Linked DNA regions of Homo sapiens: all the other regions are linked to region 2. Evidence: promoter capture Hi-C in human tissues and cell types (Jung and others, 2019). All regions are on one chromosome and are shown on one strand. The core of a region is centred on a gene start or on the middle of the fragment in contact, and the rest is flanking DNA. Distances in the headings are between cores, read along the strand shown. Region 1 overlaps VEPH1 (ventricular zone expressed PH domain containing 1). Region 2 holds the start of PTX3 (pentraxin 3). Region 3 overlaps LOC101928236 (a long non-coding RNA gene).

The links. The method cuts DNA at HindIII sites, captures the fragments that hold promoters and counts their contacts. A contact is called where the count stands out against the background at its distance.
Region 1: a contact is called between a fragment that was not itself captured here and the fragment with the promoter of PTX3 in region 2, in 1 of the 25 tissues and cell types used here (IMR-90 fibroblasts).
Region 3: a fragment that was not itself captured here is called in contact with the fragment with the promoter of PTX3 in region 2 in 2 of the 25 tissues and cell types used here (spleen and thymus).

What each region holds. Positions count from the first base shown.
Region 1 is chr3:157,305,823-157,309,632 of GRCh38, reverse strand. All of the region lies in intron 11 of VEPH1 (ventricular zone expressed PH domain containing 1), which reads left to right. All of the region lies in intron 5 of LOC101928236 (a long non-coding RNA gene), which reads right to left. Among named protein-coding and RNA genes, the nearest start is that of PTX3, 130 kb to the left of the region's middle. The HindIII fragment of the contact is 8,313 bases long and covers 1-3,810 here.
Region 2 is chr3:157,435,194-157,438,770 of GRCh38, reverse strand. PTX3 (pentraxin 3) reads right to left here and starts at 1,921. Exons shown (of 3, transcript NM_002852.4): 1 at 1,708-1,921; 2 at 857-1,258. The coding sequence starts at 1,837. All of the region lies in intron 4 of VEPH1 (ventricular zone expressed PH domain containing 1), which reads left to right. The HindIII fragment of the contact is 4,814 bases long and covers 1-3,577 here.
Region 3 is chr3:157,179,657-157,183,446 of GRCh38, reverse strand. All of the region lies in intron 2 of LOC101928236 (a long non-coding RNA gene), which reads right to left. Among named protein-coding and RNA genes, the nearest start is that of CCNL1, 21 kb to the right of the region's middle. The HindIII fragment of the contact is 6,456 bases long and covers 1-3,790 here.

The sequences.
Region 1 (3,810 bases), core at 1,280-3,779, 130 kb after region 2:
TAGTAAAATGCATGAATTCAATAGTTCAAATTTTTAAAAATTATCACTTAAATGACATTTGATAAAATCCAACAATCACTTTACTAACACACATTTTGTATAAAAATTTTATTAATGTCTGTGTCACTAATTAGACTGGGTTTCCATGAGAACATATGCTTGTCATTGTACACCCAGCACCTAGAGCATCGCCTGGCTTACTGTTGACACTCAGTGATATGTGTTCACTGAACAAAGTGAGTGAGCACTATTACTAACTAGAAATGGAAAGATGTGTTCTTAGCATGATAAATATTTGTCTGATAACAAAAGAAAAACTATGCCTAGTGGTGAACAACTGAAGATTTTTTATTAAAATACTGAAATAAAACCAGAATATCCACTATAATCTTTATAATTTAGTATTGCTTGAAAGCATGAGCCAACATGAGAATATAAGCTCCATGAGAGCAGGGATCTTGTCTCCTTGTTTGTTACAGAATCCAGGATATCTAAAGAGCATGCCTGGCTCATACTAGGCATTAATAATAATAATAATAATAACAACAACAACAAATAGAACACAAGACAGAAATAAGGAGTATACTATTTGAAATAAGAAGATAAATTCAACATTACTTTTAGTTAATATGAAAATACAAGGAACACTATTAGAATTAATAATAATAATTAACTTTACTGGTCATTTAGAATGTGCCACTAATTGTCCTGTTCATTTAACATCAATTAGTTCACTTAATCCCAATGACAACACTATGAGATAGACAGCATTATTATTATCATCTTACAAATGAGTAAACTAAGTAGAAGAAAGATTAATTTTCTCAAAGTCACAGAGCAATGGAGAGAAATACACTTGAATGAACAGTGATATTACCACGTTCCTGATTGGAAATAGCAAATATGACAAAAATGTTAATACTTCCTAAGTTAATTAGCACTTTAACTGAGTTCCAATTTAAATTCTAAGAGAATTATTTTTTATCTCTTATGAAGTGATGGTAAAATACAGCCAGAAGGATAAATAGGTGAGACTAGTTTGAAAATTTTTGAGAGGGGCAAAAAAAAGGACATTCCAAAACATTTAAGCACACTATAAAACCTACAATTATTAAATTACTCCACTTTTATGGAAAGAATTAATGCAGATAAATGGAACAGACTAGTCCAGAAACCAACTCAAATATATACATATAATCAGTTAATGTATATATACAATTGTTTAGCTACGTATGAAACGAATCCTTTTTAAAAAGCCTACATAAAAGAGAATGATATCAAAACCCTAGAGCTAATTTTGTACATACAGAAAAAATGTAAAGGTGTTTGCTATAATTAGAAATTAAACAAGGATACCTGTCATCACCTTCAAAATTTAGCATTTTACAGTGATCCTACCCAATGCAGGGAGACAAAAGCAGTTAAGTATAAGGATTAAAAGAATAAACCAGAAAGAGAAAGAGATAGAGATGAGAGGGAGGATGAGGGAAAGAGAAATTATTTATAGACAATAAGATTATTTGTGTGGAAAGTTCAAAAGAATCTAACCTTTAGAACTTATATAAAAGATCCATAAAGTTATTTGATATAAGATCAACATATAAAATCAATAACAAATCTATACGTGAGTAATAACTAAATAGAAAATGTAGAAAAGCATGCCATCTATAATAGCAGTAAAGACTATAAAGGACCTAGGAATAAATATAAGAAAAGCTGTGAAACTCTTTAATGATAAAAAATTTTTTAATATTAATGAAAAAAATTTTAAAGACCTGAATTAATGAAAAGATATGATCTTTTCATGGTCAAGAACAACCATTATCATATAAATGAAAATTTTCTCCCAAATTAAAATGTAATTACAATTTCATAACCAATCCTAATGACAACAGACTTTTCTCATGGAGTTTGACAAACTGGTCCTAAATTTAGAATAAACAAAATCCTAAGAAAGACTGTGGGGGAGGAAATTTTTATGGTACAGAAAGAGAAAACTCATGTGATTATTTCCACAGGGATAAATTAATGGTAAATAATAAAGAGCCCAGAAACAGTCCCAATCATATATGAAAGCTTGGTAGGTGATAGAAGGGGGATTACAAATCAGCGAAGAGAAAGTAAAATATGTTTTAAATAATGTAAGGACATGTAACTTTTCCAAGCTGAAAAGATAAAAGTAGATCCTTCACAGACACCATATAGATCAATTAACTCCACATAAATTAAAGGCTTAAATGTAATCAATGAAATCTTATAACAATTAGAAGAAAATATCGAAAGTTATCTTTATAGCTCCAGGATAAGAAAAATGTGACAATACAAGTCTTGGCAAAGATGTGAAAAAGTGGGAATGTTCACACACTCTTGATGGAAGGAAAATAGGTATACCTGTTTAGAAAAAAGAACACTTAAGAACATATATATATATATAGTCATTAATTAGACTCAAAAATGACAGCTAGATTACTGTTAAGATGGGTGAGTAACTTTATTTCTGAAGTCTTAATTCCATTTAAAGCTGATCATAAAAATGCTTAAATACAAGAAGGTTTTTGTATTACAGTATATAAAATGTGCTAATACTACTCAGCTATTAAAAAGAACAAAATAATGTCTTTTGCAGCAACTTGGCTGGAGCAGGAGGCCATTATTCTAAGTGAAGTAAGTCAGAAATAAAAAACCAAATACTGTATTTTCTCACTTGTAAGTGGGAGCTAAGCTATGAGTATGTAAAGGCGTACAGAGTGGTATAATGGATATTGGAGACTTGGAAGCTAAAAAACTACATATTGGGTACAGTGTACATTATTTAGATGAAGGGTGCACTAAAATCTCAGACTTCATTCATCCATGTAACCAAAACCCACAAATTTTCATTTTCAGACTTCTTAAAGAGCAATCTGCTCTTTATAATATAATCAGTGGTTATATTATAATTTCATGTGCCCTATTTTTCTGCAGTTCTATTTCTAGATGAACTCTTACATATGTGCATCAGAAAACATGTACAGAAATACTAACTGAAGCATTTTTTGCAGCAAAAAATCAGGAGCAACCCAAATGTCCCTTGATAGAGGAATGTGGAAAAAAAACGTTGTGGTATAGTCATGTTATACAGGCAGGTAAAGTGAATTAATTAGACCTATATGTAATAGCATGGGATAAATCTTGAAAATATGATATTGAGTTTTAATAAGCAAGTTGCAAAACTATGATATGAATACTATGATAGCATAAATGTTATTGTATAAATTTTTAAAACACACCAAGCAGTGTTATGCATTATTTATACATACATATACTTATGATAAAAATACACTATATTTAGAATTATACAAAATTCATGATGAGGTTGCCTTTGGGTAAGGAGAAAGTGAGGAAAGGAAGGAGGAAAATGTTACCGGGGAAGGGAATTAAGGAGATCTCAATTTCATCTGTAATTTTATTGTTAAATAACCAGAAGCAAAATATTAGCATTTGTTAAGTCTGGCTGGCAGGTACATGGGTATTTGTTAAAGTGTCTTTTGTAGATGCTTTTCTGTCTTTGTTTTTTAAATTTAATTTAACCTGTAACTAATGTCAAAGAGTAAAGAATTGGTAGGTTTGACTACATAAAATATAAAGTCTGTAAAGAGCAAAACCTTTTATGCACAATAATTTTAAATGAAAATATTTGTAACAAGCATGAAAAACAAAGTTTAATATCCTTAAGCTACTACTATAAGTTCATGAAAATCAATAATCAATGAACGAAGAACATGAGCAAATACTTAGGAGACTGAGTCCGTAAAAGATATTCAGCCTTAT
Region 2 (3,577 bases), core at 672-3,171:
TTTTAACCATCTTTAGAATGTATTATTTTGGGAACCCATGTCTGTTTGGAGATTCATGGAGTGTCACATGGGACTTTGAGAAGTTGCCTGTGGTTTGAACAGTCTCTCTCCTGCTTGGCCCCAATTCTCTGAATCCCTGGGGTGGAGCTGGGATCCCCTACACGGATTGGCTCCTACACCTGACTGTTCCACGCTGAATCCCAAACCGCACACCCTCCGACCTCCCCTGTCGCGCTAATTCCACAAACCCCGGGGGCTGGGGGACCCCTGAAGAATTCCGCTGACCCTTCGGGAGATTAGCTTTAGCCTCAAGTTTCTTGCTGAGAATGGGTGGGCGGAGAGGAGGGGCCGGCTGAGGGGCTGGAAAACATCCCTAAACGTTAGCCTGGGCCCTGAAATAGTGCGGGAAACCAGAGCTCCTCTAAAGACAGAGGCAGGATAAAATTAGAAGACGTGGAAATCCCTAACGGAGGGAAGCTGGGCGGCAAGAGGGATCACGGTTATAACGGGCCAGTGGACTCCTGCAGCGCTTAGTCGGATCGGGTGTAAGGGGCCCTAGACGTCTATTTCAAGACTGTGATGGTTACCTCCACAACTCTCTTTAGGGCTCCTTAGGACTGAGGAATACTTTTTTAAAGCCAATTTTCCCGCCTTGTATGGTGTGCCTGAGCTCTGTGACCGCGCATGCAGAAATAGGGGTGTGTGTGTGTGTGTGTGTGTGTGTGTGTGTGTGCGCGCGCGCGCGCGCGCTTCCCATGAAAGCTTCCCCTAGAAGGTTGCCTGGCTTGGCTTGCCGTTACGCGCGCTCCCGGAACAAAGCCGCAGTGGGAGGTCCCGGCCCCGCTTGCCTCCTTACCTGCCGGCAGCCAGCTCCGGGCAGCCCAGCCCTGCACCGCGTGCAGGTCGGCTCGCGTCTGCCGCAGCTCCTCTAGCACCGCGGCCAGGGCGCGCCCCGCCTCCTCTGGGCGCTGCGCCTCCGCGCCCTCCATACGCGCCAGCCTGCGGCCCGCGTCGCGGGTCGCCTGCAGCAGCTCGTCCAGAGCACTGGTCAGCCTGGCCTCTGCGGGAGCCCCCGGCGCGCACGGCCTCGCCAGGCTTTCCGCGAGCCGGCCCAGCTCCTCCCGCAGCCTCTGCAGCTCGCCCCGCAGGACGTCGTCCGTGGCTTGCAGCAGCATGCGCTCTCTCATCTGCGAGTTCTCCAGCATGATGAAGAGCTTGTCCCATTCCGAGTGCTCCTGACCGCAGGCGCACGGCGTGGCTAGAGTACGGGATACACACACGTTAGCAGCCCGCCCAGGCCTGCCTTGGATGTGCTTTGTAAAAGCTGACCTCCCTCGGTGGTGCCAAGTTGCAGCCCGTTCCTGGCATTCCCCTTCCCTTTAAGGACACCTCCGAAAAACAGCATGTAAATGTCTCAGAAACGACAGAAATCATTCATTCAGGTATAGATTAAGTTGTACCCTATGAAATCGCCGGTTATGTAGCTCAAAACAGTCAAATATTGACGATTTGATATGATTCAACCCATTATGTACGTTACAGAAATAACTTTGAAACCTCCATCTTTCTTCAAGTGCTTCTCACTTTTGCATAACAAGCTATAAATTTTTAACTTGTCTCACTGGCCACAAAGTATATGTGTGTTATTTAGACCAAGAGGTGGATATGTAGTCAGGGTTAGCAGAGAAACAGTTAAAGTGAACTTACGGTCCTCAGTGGGATGGAGTCCATTGTCTATTTCGTTGTCCAAATTCACATACATGAGATCATAATCATCCGAGTTCTCGGCCAACACTGCAGACCAGAGAGCACAAAACAGAATCGCAAGGAGATGCATTGCTGGAGAGACGCAAAGTTCTTTCCACAGCTGGCGGGAGGAGACTCTCAAGTGAGCTGAGTTTGAGCGGAGGAGAGTGAGAGTGAGAGGCTGGAGCAGAGAGTCCTTAATAAATGCTGAGGAAAGCCTGAATGGGGATGAATGAGTAATGCTGGTGGCACTGCGGTAACGGGAGTTCCCCTGAATTTGGTGGGGGAGGGGGCTGGGTGGGAGAGCGAGGGAAATGTGGAAGTTGCACAATATTAAACCGCAAAGGTTTACGCTGCAGTCAGATTAATTGGAGGAGGGTCAGAGGGGAAAGAGGAGAGAAACTGGGCTTCTACTGTTCTCCTGAGAATTAGCTGTTGTAATTTGAATTGATAGCAATGGGGATGAAGGAGGGGTGGTAGGGGAGAAATTTCAGAGGGTACTGAAGCAAATCATCATTTCAGCATTTTCTGTGAGCTGTTATTATTTCACAACCCTTTATATATAGAAAACTTTCCATGTTTCCTTTGTACACTGTTTTACAGGTTGAAACTGAAAATGGTCTGATTCCAAGATAAACCAACATATTAAGAATAGTTATGGCTCTGAAAGTCAAGTCCAATCCGAGCTATCTTGTCTTTAATACTTGAGGAGTTGCACCTATACTTTTATAGATAATTTTTTTTTTTGAGACTGAATTTCGCTCTTGTTGCCCAGGCTGGAGTGCAATGGTGTGATCTCGGCTCACTGCAACCTCCGCATCCTGGGTTCAAGCGATTCTCCTACCTCAGCTTCCCAAGTAGCTGGAATTACAGGCACCCGCCACCACACCCAGTTAATTTTTGTATTTTTAGTAGAGACAGGGTTTCACCATGTTAGCCAGGCTGGTCTCGAACTCCTGACCTCAGGCGATCCACCCGCCTTCGCCTCCCAAATTGCTAGGATTACAGACGTGAGCCACCTCACCCGGCCTATGACAAACAACACAGTACAACTGGGTAAACCTAGAATGGGGAAAAAAAGCTGGGGGAAAAAAGGAATATACTTATTTAGTTATTTAGGTATGTTTCTTTTCATAACTTGGTATTATGTGGACATTATATTATTCTACAAGGTTTCGAGGCAAGGATCATGTTTTAAAAGTAAACTTAGAGATTTCTGCTTCTAACAATATATACAGGTCTGTGTTCACATGATATTAATAAAAACTTAAAAGGTACAGATGAGCTCCCATTAAAGTAAGGGGAAAATCCCGGAGCCAAAGATAGAGAGGAAAGCAAAAACAACAATCCCATGAGCTGATGCTAGGGCCCCTCTGGCATAGGAGTGAAGTGAGATAGGGGTTATTAGTTCTATAACCACCAAATGTTGATGACCATGTGGAAGCAAAGCTTAGGCCAAAGGTGGAGAGTTAGAAGGGAGATCCTCATGAAAGCCAGGACCCTCACAGGGTTACCTACTGTATTTCAGTAGGTACAATCCCACTCTGCCCTAGCACAAAGAGGTAGGAAGCAATCATGTCTCTCTTTGAACTCTACAAGGTCCCTTTGAGTTTGTGAAATTGGGCCTGCCCTCAGATATGTTTAGAATTCAAATATATACTATCTGCCACTGTGAAAACAAAAAAGAATTCACAATGATATTTGAACATATGAGGAAGCAAACCACTATAAATGAGAATCAGCAGAAACCAAAAAGGATTAGACACCTCTCCCCAAGAACTGCATTTAGTTGAAATATCAGCCAAAAAACTAGAAAATAAATATGTTTAAA
Region 3 (3,790 bases), core at 141-2,640, 250 kb after region 2:
TTAAAGTAGGTCCATGGAGTAGAGTGGCTGCTACAGAGAGAGAACAAAATTGTTGGAAAAGGAGAAGTCAAGAAACCATGAAACGTGGCTCCTGGAAGATCATCTACTTGGATGCTGAAATCAGGTGTCATTTCAGAGAATGGCAGTGAACCTGAAGGTAAAAATCTTCAAAAAACCAGGGAGAAGAACTCAGGAGGTTCATGAACAGAGCATGCCAATCTGCTAACGTGAGACTAAAAACTGGGGCAGGTAGGGTGGAGGGGGGAAAAATGGTCCAGAAGTGACCAGAAGGAGAAGGGAGGACTTCCACTTTGCTTCAGAGCGAGGGGTAGGAGGCCTGTGAACAGCTACACTAGAGAGGGCCACAAGGGAGCAGCATCCTCAGGACGAGCAGAGTTTCTATTACAGCAAAAAGAAGACTAGAAGGAATTTGCTTTGGATGACCAGGTTTAGCAATACTAAAGCATCAAAACATAACATCCAGTATGAGGGTGGTAGTGCATGCCCATAATGCCTTTCTGAGGCTGAGGGCAGAATCATGAAAGCCCAGGCTCATGCTTGCTCTCTCTCACTCTCTTTATATATATATGTGTGTGTGTGTGTGTGTGTGTATAAATATATAGGGTTTATGAATATATAAAATATATAGTTTATATATATAATATAGAGTATATGTCTATTTTATATATATAACCATATACAATGTCAAAGTCATGCTAACAAAATTGTGTATAATTCACTGTATTTTCTGAGGCAAAACATATTTAGTATCTAAACCTGTTACACAGTCACAACTCTTATTTTCCAAGCAGATTACGATAAACATTATATTCTATAGGAACATCTCCATACCCAAGATGATACCTGCTGATAAAAGGTTGAGAATCATGGCAGAGGAAGGTGATCCAGAATTGTCTCTGAGGTGGAACCAGATAAGATGCTGGAAAAGAGGGAGAGACCAGAGTAGAGAGACTCTCAAGGTTTGTTTTAGGGGATGGGGAGGATGAATATGCCAATGAAGGAGATGGGGAAGAGGACAAGAAGACATAAATGCTTCATTGAAATACAAGTTACATTTGAGATGCCTTTAGGCTAACAAGTTGGGCTGTCCAGGAGCCGTTGGAAAAAGGAATCTAGAATTCATACAGTAGTGAGGCAGGAGAGACAGATTTAGAAGTCATCATATAGGCATGTGGAAGCTGAAATAGATGAGTGGGTGAAACTTCTCAGTCTTTGGTTCCAGAGGTGATGGAACAGCAGCTCACCTGGCAGTAGCCAGCCCATGCTAACTACTAAAAAAAATCTCATAATGTATTGTCTATTTTGAGTCAAAATACATTTATTTTATTATTTTTTTTTTTTGAGACAGAGTTTTGCTCTTGTTGTCCAGGCTGGAGCGCAATGGCGTGATCTCAGCTCAAGGCAACCTCAGCCTCCTGGGTTCAAGAGATTCTCCTGCCTCAGCCTCCCAAGTAGCTGGGATTACAGGCATGCACCACCACGTCTGGCTAATTTTGTTGTAATTTTAGTAGAGACAGGGTTTCTTCATGTTGGTCAGGCTGGTCTCGAACTCTCAACCTCAGGTGATCCACCTGCTTCGGCCTCCCAAAGTGCTGGAATTACAGGCATGAGCCACTGTGCCTGGCCCAAAACACATTTAATATCTACTCCTGTAATAGGTGTGAGCAAGTTTTTGGACATTGAGGCAGATTGGAGGTTACCATGCTCAGCCATATTGGATCTTATGGCAAAAAAAAAAAAAAATCAGTGACACTGATCCTGTCTGTATTGTTCAATAGTGCCTCCAAAACATTCATGTCCACCCAGAGCCTCAGAATGTGATCTTATTTGGAAACAGGGTCTTTGCAAATATAATTATTTAAAATGAGGTCATATTGGATTAGAATGGGCCCTAAGTCCAGTGACTGGTGTCCTCAAAAGAAAAGGAGAGGACACAGAGACACATAGGGAAGAACTCATGACGATGAAGGCGAAGATGAGTGGAGACAAGCCAACAAACACCAGGGATTGCAGGCAATGACCCGAAGCTAGCAGAGAGGCATGAGGTTTCCTCCTGAGAGCCCCTGGCCTCCAGAACTGACAGAAAAGAAATGTATGTTCTTTTAAGCCACCCAGTTTTTGGTACTTTGTTACAGCAGCCCTTGGAAAATAATGTACTGTCTTTATCTAAAACTTTGATATTTGATTATAGATTGCTTGGCATTAGATTTAACTTTCTTTAATATCACATGAAAATATTTATTTGGATTACTGAGTTTTTTGGCGTAGCCTTAAATTTTACAGCTGAAGCAAGTGCCTCACTCACCTCATCCTAGTCCTGGCCCTGGGAATGTTTTAATTACTTTTATTAAGATATCAACAGGCAAGTTTCCTCTCAGTCTATTTCCAGACATAGATATATATCCAAATAATAAAGAGTAAAAGCAAGCATGATTTCTAAATAAAAGGGCTTTCAACAGGGATTAATTACATGTTCTCCCTCACTGAAGAAACACAACGCATCTCAGAAGGGATACAGATACTGGCATACCTTGTTTAAAAACAGCAGCCACAGTCTGTTAATTCTATCTGCTTCCCATGAGAAAGAAAAATCATCCCATGGCAGTTTAATTGGCCTTCACCCACATGTAGGGGGTTTATGAACATGTAGTCCCTTTGGGAAAATATCTAAAGAAAAATTCTTCAGAGTTGAATATGACTATGAGAGGGCTGGATAAAGTAAGTAGCAGTTTTTAAACAGGGTCCTAACTTTTTTTATACTCTTCATGGAGAGGTGGAGGAGGAAGTGTCTATGGCCACACCTCTTGACTATGGGCAGGCTTGTGACTGTTTCAACCAACAGACCACTGTGGACATGATAATGAAGCTTGGCAATCCAGCCTTGTGCACTAGAACACTCATGCTTGGAACCCTGAACCACCTGGTAAAAAGTCTGACTACCCTGAGATCACTAGCTGTAAGGAAACCAAATCACATAAGGCAGCCAGGTGTGAGTGTTCCCATCAGCAATTCTAGTCTTTAAGCCAGCCCGGCTTAAGAGATGAGACCTGACACCACAAGAAGCAGGGATTATTCCTTCCGTGTCTGATGTGAATTTCCCCAAAATTCATGAACATAAGAAATGGTTGTTTCAAGATGCTTAATTTGGGCCAATTTGCTATGTAGCAATAGTAACTGCAACAGAGTATGAGAGTCAAAGATATTTGTATCAATATGAATTGAGATTAATTATCCAAAATATTTCAATCATCTACAGAATAGATGTTTGAAAGTTCACAATACTCTGGAATAAAATATTTTCTACATAATGTAAAGCAAAGCATTATTTGCAAACATGTAAATACATGTTGTCCCATGAGAGGTTTTCCATTATAACTTCAGAGTAATTAAACATACAAAGACCAATCCCTTGCTAATCTTTCTGTTCAAATTGCTTAATTATGAGAGCTTCTGTGTTCATTGTAAGACAGAAAGATAAGGTTAATAAATCTTGTCCTTTGAACTCTCATTTCAAATTTTATCCCTGAGTGCAGATGTTGTTAAAATGTTTTCTCAAGCTTCTCAGTAACAGAGTTGGTTAGTACTTTTCTGGTGAGGATATTATTTCATGTCTGTATGTTCTAAAGTTCTAGCAGTGTAACATTATTGCTGATTTTAAAGACTGATACACCCCGTCTGGGAAGTGAGGAGCGCTTCTACCCGGCTGCCCCGTCTGGGAAATGAGGAGCGCTTCTGCCCGGCTGCCCCGTCTCGTAAGTGAGGAGCGCCT